Regions from separate parts of the Homo sapiens genome. Here region 2 is linked to region 1. Evidence: promoter capture Hi-C in human tissues and cell types (Jung and others, 2019). All regions are on one chromosome and are shown on one strand. The core of a region is centred on a gene start or on the middle of the fragment in contact, and the rest is flanking DNA. Distances in the headings are between cores, read along the strand shown.

Region 1 (5,735 bases), core at 1,180-3,679:
ACTCCTGACCTCAGCCTCCCAAAGTGCTAGGATTAGAGGCATGAGCCACTGTGCCCAGCCACGGTCTTTATCAGCAGCATGAAAACAGACTAATACACCAAGCAACTGGTCAATGTCATAGGCACTGGAGAAACTTCTCGGATTTGTTCTTTTAAAATGTTCTTCAGGAAGGGCACAATGGCTCACCCCTGTAATCCCAGCACTTTGGGAGGCCAAGGTGCTCCCAGCTCACTTGAGGCCAGGAGTTCAAGATCAGCCTAGGCAACACAGTGAGACCCTCCCCCAACGTCTACAAACATTTTTTTAGAACATTAACCAAGTATGGTGGGGCATGCAGTGAGCCATGATTGCATCACTGGACTCCAGGGTGGGTAACAGTGCAAGACTGTCTCTAAAAAAAGAACTAAAAAATAAACAAATACGTAACTAAATAAAATGTTCTTCATACATTTTGCAGTAACCTTGTAACCATTCAATCGCTGATTCTGAATCTATGTAAATTCTGGTATCAGACCCTTGGTAAGATGCTTGAGCAAAATGCCATGAAGACACCTGCCCACAAGCCAAAATGTTAGAAGTCAGGTGCAGTAGCGAGCTCCTGCAGTCCCAACCACTTGGGAGGCTGAGGCAGGAGGATCTCTTGAGCCCATAGTTCGAGACCAGCCTGGGTAACATAATGAGACCCCTGTCTCAAAAACAAAAAAAGAACCAGTGACATAGGATGAGGACGAAGAAGCAAGGAATAGTGCTGAAGAACTTTCAGGATATGCGGGGTGACACTAGAAAGTGCTTAGACATCACACGTTACCAAGAAAAAAATGTGACCTATACAAAGGAGTCTGCCCATGTCCTATGAAACAATTTAAAAATCAAAAATAGGCCGGGTGCGTTGGCTCATGCCTGTAATCCCAGCACTTTGGGAGGCCAAGGTGGGCAGATTACGAAGTCAGGAGATCGAGACCATCCTGGCTAACATGGTGAAACCCCGTCTCTACTAAAAATATAAAAATTAGCCGAGCATGGTGGCGCGTGCCTGTAATCCCAGCTACTTGGGAGGCTGAGGCAGAAGAATCGCTTGAACCAGAGAGGCAGAGGTTGCAGTGAGCTGAGATCACACCAGCCTGGGCAACAGAGAGAGACTCTGTATCAAAAAAAAAAGAAATAAATAATTACAAAAATGGAGTTTGGCTTTAATTAATGATCTGAATTAATAAAAACAACAAAATGCTAGGCCAGCGCAGGGGATCATGCCTGTAATCCCAGCACTTTGAGAGGCCGAGGCAGATGGATCACTTGAGGTCAGGAGTTCAAGACCAGCCTGGCCAACGTGGTGAAACCCCATCTGTACTAAAATACAAAAATTATTCGGGCATGGTGGTGGGCACCTGTAATCCCAGCTACTTGGGAGGCTGAGGCAGGAGAATTTCTTGAACCCGGGAGGTGGAGGTTGCAGTGAGCCGAGATCACGCCACTGCACTCCAGCCTGGGCAACAGAGTGAGAATCTGTCTCAAAAAAAAAAGAAAAGCTAAATGTACAAAGCTAGGGCATTGAGATCCATGAGAATACAGGGCAAAATTGATGTTAATCTGTCATATAAAAATTTAATTACATCCCATAAATATCTGCAATTTTTTATTGTTTATTTTTTGAGACAAGGTCTCACTCTGTTGCCCAGGCTGGAGTGCAGTGGTGCAATCACAGCTCACTGCAGCTTCAACCTCCCCCGGCTCAGATGATCCTCCCACTTCAGCTTCCTGAGCAGCTGGGACTACAGGTGTGCACTGCCACACGCATCTAATATTTGCATTTTTCATAGAGATGGGGTTTTGCCATGTTGCCAAGACTGGTCTTGAACTCCTGAGCTCAAATGATCCTCCCACCTCGGCCTCCCAAAGTGCTGGAATTACAGGCATGAGCCACCCCGCCCAGCCAATATTTATAATTATTACATGTCAACTAAAATAAAAGAAAAAGTAATTTAATCACAAACCCAGTTGACATAAACGTATGTAATATGGAATTTCCTGTTGTTTCCATACAAATTTATCTTTGTCTATTTGAGAGATCAATTTCTCTTTTCAGTATTGAGTAGTGAATAGAATCAAAATCTGTGGGTAAAGAAGCTACTCAGACAGTTTCAAAACTGAATTTGATGACACATTTGTACCCAATCTGAGTGGCCCCCAGCAACATGGGTTTTGAGTTCTCAAAGGCCAATAGATAGCTCCCTTTCCTTTCCACAGCTTTGGGAGCTTGGGCTACCCTGTAACGTCTAAATGCCTGTGCAGTGTGGGCCTGTGAAGCTGGCAGGGTGGGCAGTGTAAATGCCCACTAGCAGGAGCCAGCTGACCTCCTGCGTGTCACAATAGCAGCCAGGTGTCTCCACGGTGACGTCTCTGAGCCAGGAGGTCAGAACTGTGGGATTGATGACCTCCCACAACTGGAGCAGCCGGGAACAGCTCTGACCACAGTAAGTCATCCCAAAACCTCACATTCAGATGAAACCATTTAAGAATTTCATCTGCACTGAGGAACAATTTAGCGTGATACTGGAGGGAAAGAGTTTCCCTGTGAGATCCAGGAGGTCCCTTTAGCTCGTCTCCTGACGTCACCACAGTCATACCCAAGAGGAAGGAAACGTCAGAGACAATGATTTGGAGAACATTCTACACAAAAACCAAGTATGAAACAATGACGATTTCATGATGGCTCATTGTTCTTTGGTATTGTGCCTTACGTGAGCTGGGGACTAACTCTGTATCCTTAAGGAGGCATCACTTGATTAGAGTTGCCCAAAAGAATGTGGGTTATTATCCTAAAGGTCTGTGTTGCCATCCTGAAACAGTCAGAAATCAGTTTTTATTTCACTTAGGTGGTTCCGGGGAGAAGCCTTTCCAGGACCCATGTGTAGGCACAACTGTTTTCCCTGATCAGGATACTTGCGGCACTCAAGTGAGTCTAGAATTATCAGATTTTGTTCTGTCTCTCTTCACTGTGAATTCTATTCTTTATTTCCTTTAAAACAAAAAGCTCCTGCTATTTTCTCCTATAATTATGATATCTGTTTCTTGATCATTTTACCTTCTATTCACCAATTAATTGAAATCCAACCCATCAGGATTATCTACCCTGCTTTCCTATAGGGAGAATAAAAAGTGCTTAGAAGCAGTATGATTTTCACTGCCTTTAATTTCTCAAATCCCAAGATGTTCCATTTAAAATCTTTAGAGTATCTATTTTGTCTTCTGTACATTATGGTTGTATTCCCTCAGAGGCCGAGTATATTTTATCTTAGTTTTCAGAGATCACTAAAGTCAAGTAAATGAAGGAAAACAGAATTCATTTTCATTATGGGAAAACAAAATCAATCCCTAAGTAGTCAAAAGATTACTTACTTAAGGAACCACCTGGTTAACTTCTTCTCCTAGAACTTAATCCCCTAACTAGGGGTAAAAAAGGCTCATTGTCATCTTATAAAGTATTAGATACCAGGGACTTGTCAAATGCTAATGCCTTTATTATAGAATGTTTAATTTAGACCTTCCTAAACAGTTTTGCTTTCTTCCGTCATTTGTCTGTGATGGAACCTCAAAGACACTAACTAGTATGCGAGACAGATTTGTGTTGGAACATTGTGTTAGCTTTCCAGTAGAGTTAAAACTCTGGAATGCAATTATAAACCTCCAAATGAAAAATACCGGCCGGGCACAGTGGCTCACACCTATAATCCCAGCACTTTGGGAGGCTGAGGTGGGAGGATCACTTGGGCCTAGGAGTTTAAGGTCAGCCTAGGCAACATAGTGAGACCCTGTCTCTACAAAATATAGAAAAAAGTAGCCAGTTATGGCAGAATGCATCTGTAATTCCAGGGACTCAGGAGGCTGAGGTGAGAGGATTCCTTGAGCTGGGGAGGTCAAGACTGCAGTGAGCCATGACTGTGCCACTGCACTCCAGCCTGGGTGACAGAGTGGGACCCTATCACGAAAAAAAAAAAAGAAAAATACCTAAGTGGCCAAATACCTTATAAAGTTCATGCATGCTACTCTACAGGAAATATCCTCAGCTGTCTTCTCTGTGCTGAGTTCATATACTCTTGTGCCTAGTTCATACATGCTTGGTCATCTGCCTTCCAAAGCACACAGCAAACCAGATGATGAGAGCAGCTGACAAGTGGAGACAGTTGTCATTTTATGTTGGCAGCTACAATAAATGACACTGTCTGATGGAGAAAATGAGCGGGGAAAACACTTCCAAAACACAGGCAGAAATATAAGAGTTGAAATCCCAGAGTTCCAGAACAATTTCACCTCAGGGCAAGCAAGCCTAAGTGGCCTGTGTATCCACCACTCTACCACAACCCAGTGACATAACCGACTTGATGGTCCTCAGACGCCGGAGCTGGGAGGATCCCCTAGGGTGCTGCCCAACTCGCCCCAATTTACAGATGAGGAAATGGAGGCCTCAGGAAGCATTGACAGCCCAGTTCAGGATCACAGCTAGTTAAGGGGGAAGCTGCAACTACAGTCAGGATCCCCTCATCCCAAGGGCCAACTTCTATCCTATACGCCCCACTCTGGAAAGGTGAAAAATAATTCAGCATTTTGGCCAGGCGCAGTGGCTCATGCCTGTAATCCCAGCACTTTGGGAGGCCAAGGCAGGCGGATCACAAGGTCAGGAGACCAAGACCTTCCTGGCTTAACACGGTGAAACCCCGTCTCTACTAAAAATACAAAAAATTAGCCGGGCGTGGTGGCGGGCACCTGTGGTCCCAGCTACTCTGGAGGCTGAGGCGAGACAATGGCGTGAACCCGGGAGGTGGAGCTTGCAGTGAGCCAAGATCGCGCCACTGCACTCCAGCCTGGGCGACAGTGCGAGACTCCGTGTCAAAAAAAAAAAAACGAACAAAAAAAGTAAAAAATAAAAATAATAATAATTCAGTGTTTCAAAAGGTTTCAAAAGGCCAGTAAGGAATTAATACATGTTTAAAGAATTTTCTTGACAAAATGGTTGAAGGCTCATTGGTTACATTTGAGAATTAAATAAGATAAAGCATAGAAGGTTATCCCTCAAACACAGAAAGAAATCAAAATGTTGTCAGTTATTATTATAACTTAAAAATCTGATATATAAAAAAGTGCTTTTTTACAGAAGTCAGAAGAAAGTAGGTTGAGCATTTTTAATACTAATCTTTTAAATACCTTTGCTCTGCCAGAAAATTAATTTTCATAAAGCAATACATTGTTGGATCTCACCCTTAGGAAGGTCTTCCCTGGGCACCCTATTTTAACAGTACCCCATCACCTCTAGCTCTTTACTTTGATTTCGTATGCTTTATAACCTATTACCATATGAAACTAAAGATATGTATAAAATCTTTTCTCTAAAGCTTCTCCTAAAGTTCACAGCTAAAATACTATGATTTTCTTCTGGTTTTTAAATAGTCCTCTTGTTAGAAAAGATTTAGCCCTTATCCTCAATCTCACAGCCACTAAATAGTCAATTCACACAAGCCAAGTGATTTGTAAAATAGGAGTCTCTGCAAACTGAGTCCAACCAGCTTGAATAATAGCATCATAACATAATGGGATCCCTTTCTGGTGGTAGTGTCCGGGACCAAATACCAAAATTCCTATTTTAAGCTGTATTAAGATTTTCTAAATGTAGCTATGTTTCAAGAGAAAATGCTTGGTCTATGGATAGCTGAAGCCATGTAAAACAAGCATTCTTATCACAT
Region 2 (5,735 bases), core at 1,929-4,428, 79 kb before region 1:
TCATTCATTTCTGATGGGAACACAAAATGGTACAGACACCTTGAAAGACAGTTTGGCAGCTCTTCACAAAGTTAAATAGAGTCTTACAATTTGATCCATCATTGAGCTCCTTAAGTGTTTAATTTGAAGGTTTATGTTCAAACTAACTAATTTGAAGGTTTATGTTCACACCAAAACTTGCACGTGAATGTTTATAGCAGCTTTATTCATAATTGCCAAAAACTGGGAGCAACCAAGCTGTCCTTCAGTGGATGAATAGACAAACTGTGGTATCCATGCAATAAAATGCTATCCAGTAATTAAGAAGAAATGCACTATCAAGCCATGCCAAGAAATAGATGAATCTTAAATACATATGGCTAAGTAAAAGATGCCACCCTGAAAAGGCTGGATACGATGTGATTACACTTGTATGAAATTCTGGAAAAGGCAAAACTATAAAGACAGTAAACAAATTTATGGTTGCCTGCAGATTGGGGAGAGAGAAATGTTGAATAGGTGAAGTGTGTGGGAATATTTTAGTACAGTAAAACTATTCTATATAATATTGCAATGGTGGATACATAACACTATACATTTGTCAAAATCCATAGAACTTTACAACACAAGGAATGAACCTTAATGTAAACAAATTTTTAAAAAATCATATAGGGGAATCACAGGATGGTATGCACAATGTAACAAAACAATCCGACTCTATTACATATGTAGGAAACAACACAACTGAAAGGGTAGAGGGAAAGGGTATGTATTAGTTCATTCTCACACTGCTACAAAGAAATACCCAAGACTGGGTAGTTTATGAAGAAAAGAAGTTTAAGTGGTTCATGGTTCTGCAGGCTGTACAGGAAGCGTAGCAGCTTCTGCTTCTGGGGAGGCCTCAGGGAACTTGCAATCATGGCGGAAGGCAAAGGAGGAGCAAGACACTTCACATGGCTGGCACAGGACAAAGTTGGGGGGAAGGTGCCATATACTTTTAAGCAACCAGATCTCACAAGAACTCACTCATTATCATGAAAACAGCACCAAGGAGGATGGTATTAAACCACGCATGAGAAACTGCCCTCATGTTTCAATCACCTCCCACCAAGCCTCACCTCCAACATTGGGGATTACAATTTAACATGAGAGTGACGTGGGGACATAGATCCAAGCCACATCAGGTGCTGACCTAAGTAACTTTAGAAATGACCAGTCTATAAGACTAAAGGCAAATGGAACTGTATATAAGACTGTACTTTGGGTGATGATGTAGATTTACACAGGGGTACAGGTTAACAATTCCAAAACCACTATACCTGTATTCTGGAATTGAACAATTAAGAAAATGGATGACAGGCCAGACACAGTGGCTCACATCTATAATCCCAGAGCTTTGGGAGGCTGACGTGGGAGAATTGCTTGAGGCCAGGAGTTCAAGACTAGCCTGGGCAACATAATGAGATTTCGTCTCTACAAAACATTTTAAACCTAGCCAGACATGGTGGCACACACCTGTAGGCCCAGCTACTTGGGAGGCTGAGGGAGGAGGATCACTTGAGCCCAGGAGTTTGAGGTTACAGTGAACTATAATCACACCACTGCACTTCAGCCTGGACAACAGAGAGGGACCCTCTCTCTAAGAAAAGAGAAAGAAATGGATGGCAGATGGCAGATGCCAGATTTCTCACCATTGGAGCTGCAGTTTACAGATAAGCAAGGGGAGGTGGCTGGAATGATTCATGTGGTAATGGGTTAGAGCTAAAGACATCAGTATGAACTCATAATTAGCTTAATATAGGTACAGATGATTATATATAGAAATATTTCTAAATTTATAACCGCCTGATGGGTTCTCTTTGCCCACTGCCTAGACAGAGCCAATTTATCAAGACAGGAGAATTGAAATATAGAGTTTAATTCATTCAGTGCTGGCTGTACAGGAGACTGGAGTTTTATTGTAACTCAAATCAGTCTCCCAAAAAACTCAGGGATTGGGGTTTTTAAGACCAATTTGGTGGGTAGGGGGCAGTGAGTTGGGATTGCTGATTGGTTGGGCCGAAGCTGTCCTCTCGCACTGAGTCAGTTCCTGAGTTGGGGCCACAAGACCAGATGAGCCAGTTTATCCATCTGGGTGGCATCAGCCTATCCATCAAGTACAGGGTCTGCAGTCTGCAAAATATCTCAAGCACTGGTCTTAGGTTTTACAATAGTGATGTTATCCTCAGGAGCAATTTGGAGAGGGTCCGAATTTTTAGCCTCCAGCTGCATGACTCCTAAATCGTCATTTCTAATCTTGTGGCTAATTTGTTAGTCCTACAAAGCCAGTCTAGTCCTCAGGTAGGAAGGGGGTTTGTTCCGGGAAGGGCTGTTATTGTCTTTGTTTCAAAGTTAAACTATAAACTAAGTTCCTCCCAAAGTTAGTTCAGCCTATGCCCAGGAATGAACAAGGGCAGCTCAGGGGTTAGAGGCAAGATGGAGTTGGTTAGGTCAAATCTCTTACACTTGTCATAATTTTCTCAGAATTTTTCAATGGCAGTTTGAATGTCTATAAACACATGGCTTATATATCTGTAAACCAAAAAGTCTCTGAGACATGTCTCAATCAGTTTAGAAGTTTATTTTGCCAAGGATAAGGACACGCATCTGGGAGACTGGGTCTGTGACTTTCTCCAAAGATAATTTTGAAGGTTGTAATATTTAAAGGGAAAAGGGCAGATACTGGGGAAAGAGGAAGAAATTTTTTAAAGGTGTGGGTAGATAGGAGACAAAGGGTTGCATTCTTTTGAGCTTTTGATCAGCCTTTCACCAAATACAAAATTTACAGGTCGGGGGCAAGGTAGAGGTCTGGCTCTGTGAATCTGCATTTTTACATACGGTAAAATAAATAAACAATAGGGCCGAAGAAGCAATCAGATAGGCATTTGGTGAGCAGAGGGATGACTTTGAGTTCTGTCCTTTTCCCATACTTGTGAAGATGAGCTATCAACTTACGTTGCCAGGGTGAAATTCAACAGAATAAAACAGGAGGCAGGTTTGCCTGACGCAGTTCCCAGCTTGACTTTTCCCTTTGGCTTAGTGATTTGGGAGTCCCGAGATTTATTTTCCTTTCACGTATCTCTTTGCTCCGTCAGCTAAGAGGGCCAAGAAGTAATGACACCCCTGCAGCCACAAGCACACCTAATGCCCAGATCTTTGTCTCTAATGCCATTCTCCAATAAAAGGAACCAAGGATCCTTGGAGAAATGGCTGAATCTCGGACTAGAGCAGGAAACAATACAAGATAGGACTGTGTTGGAGGAAAAACCGGGTTCTTGTCACAAGATCAGGAAAGAATAGGCTCGCAGTCACTTTGAAGGGTGAGGGAGAATGGAAGTTATTGGGTGAAAAGGAAAAAGTTAGAACAACACAGCAAAGTGAGATGAGGTCCTGCTAACAGGCGGGCTCTCCACCTCACGGATTGAATCCCAGGTTACCACACAGGAACAGGAGGGGCCAGGCTCCTCCCCGCTGCAAACGGGGCAAACTTCCCCGGCTCCACCCCACTCTCCCAGTGCGCAGGCCAGTTGGAGATTCTCCGGGGTCCCCTTTGTATTTGGCTGTCTCAGCTGGAGCATCTTATAGTGCCTGAAATCAAGAAAGTGCTCAAAAAAGTAAAGAAAAATGTTAAAACTCCACAAGGATGTGGGTATATCAAAGGGGTACAGGAACAAAGTGAAAGAGTTCTCTGTGCCTGAAGGTAGAACGATTTGAGCAACAATATTAAGTAGTATTAGATTATAACACAAAACACAAAATAAGTATCCACAAGTCTATAATGGCATAAATAAGTGACTGAATAAATAAATAAATGGGGAGAAGAGACAAGTCTCCTGTGCAGAATTCCATTAATACATGTACATACTCTGCCCAGAATCCCAGTTCTACAAAATACCTGAGGAGTACTTCTCAAAATCGTCAAGGTCAACAAAAACAAGTGATACAGGGGGTAGAAAGAAATTATTTAGGCAGATAGTAGGGCAAAAGAGTCCTCGGCAGAGCTTCCCTTCTAACAAAAAGCAGCCCAAGAAATTATTTTTTTCCTAAGAAAGAGCAGCCTGAAAAATCGAGCTGCAAACATAGATAAGCAAGCTGGATGCCAGCATTCACAGGAGAATGCCAGCAGCTGTGCCAATAGAAAACAGCTACCTGGGAGCCAGGAGTGTCCAACATGGAGGCTCCGTCTTCCATTTGTTTGTTACCATGTGTACGGTAATAAAAAAATGGCGCAACTCAGGCAGAGAACCTACCTCCATAATAAAAGATTAGAGTGGGGGCTACCAGATATTCACGCCCTATGCAAATGGCACACCTGGTCTAACCAGTCTTCCTCCTTACCAGCTCATCTATAAAACCCCCGGCATTTCACCACAGATCAAGCAACCCGTTTTCCAGCACCCCACTCTGCAGAAGAGAGCTCTTCTCTTTCTTTCGCTTATGAAACCTCTGCTATCAACCTCACCCTTTGTGTGTGCCTGCCCTCGTTCTCCATGGACATGAGACAATGAACCTCGGGTGCTATTCCAGACAGTGAGGCCATTTCAAAAGGAAAATCTGAGAAACTGTCACAGCCAAGAAGAGCCTAAGAGGATATGATGACTAAAAGTAATACGGGATTCTGGGTGAGACCATAGAACAGAAAAAGAACATTAGGTAAAAATGAAGGAAATATGAATAGAGTATGAATTTTAGTTAATAACCATATATCGATATTGCTTCGCTAATTACGACAGATGTGCCACACGAAATGTAAGATGTTAGTCATGGAGGAAGCTTGGGGTAGGATATATAGGAACTCTGTACTATATCTGTAATTTTTCTGTAAATGTAAAACTCTTCTAAAATAAATGTGTATTTTTTCAAAGTAAGCTAGGTTAGAAAAGTCACTCATTAGCTGAGTGACTTTTTTCTGTAAATGTAAGAGAGTAATTTTTCTGTAAATGTAAAACTCTTCTAAAATAAGTGTGTATTTTTTCAAAGTAAGCTAGGTTAGAAAAGTCACTCTAGATTTCATTAGAAAAGGAAATCTGCCTTTGGAGGAAATTATTACTTAACTATTACTATATACCAAACAATTAAAAATTTATTCCTAAATCTTAGCCCTATTCACAAAATTACAGCACAGCTGAATAGATAGGTCAAACCTCCTATTAACAACGCACTATTTAACATTTGCTAATTTGGAGAAGCTGGGAAAGAAATTGCATACTTTTAAGTGAAAATAAGACATTCACTAAAGGGTCTTAGCCAAAAGAAAAGATTTAAAATATTTAAAATATAGATGTAATTATAGTATAGAGTGCTATTTATATTTATTCATCAGAATTAAATAAGGTTTTAGGTGTCGCAGATAGCAAGGAAGAGTGATTAATGAGTCAATGAGAAGGACTCAGTATAAACTGTATTATTAAGAGTTTTGGCCAGGCACAGTGGCTTATGCCTGTAATCCCAGCACGTTGGGAGGCCGAGGTTGGTGGATCACGAGGTCAAGAGATTGAGACCATCCTGGCCAACATGGTGAAACCCTGTCTCTACTAAAAATACAAAAATTCACTGGGCATGGTGGCACGCACCTATGGTCCCACCTACTCCAGAGGCTGAGGCATGAGACTCGCTTGAACCCGAGAAGCAGAGATTGCAGTGAGCTGAGATCACGCCACTGCACTTCAGCCTGGGCAACAGAGGGAGACTCTGTTTCAAAAAAAAAAAAAAAAAAA

What was found. The method cuts DNA at HindIII sites, captures the fragments that hold promoters and counts their contacts. A contact is called where the count stands out against the background at its distance.
Region 2: a contact is called between a fragment that was not itself captured here and the fragment with the promoter of IPO5 in region 1, in 2 of the 25 tissues and cell types used here (H1 embryonic stem cells and mesendoderm cells).

The regions. Positions count from the first base shown.
Region 1 is chr13:97,951,246-97,956,980 of GRCh38, forward strand. It overlaps IPO5 (importin 5), which reads left to right and starts at 2,430. Exons shown (of 29, transcript NM_002271.6): 1 at 2,430-2,471; 2 at 2,874-2,953. The HindIII fragment of the contact is 20,218 bases long and covers 1-5,735 here.
Region 2 is chr13:97,871,932-97,877,666 of GRCh38, forward strand. No RefSeq gene overlaps it. Among named protein-coding and RNA genes, the nearest start is that of IPO5, 79 kb to the right of the region's middle. The HindIII fragment of the contact is 5,327 bases long and covers 516-5,735 here.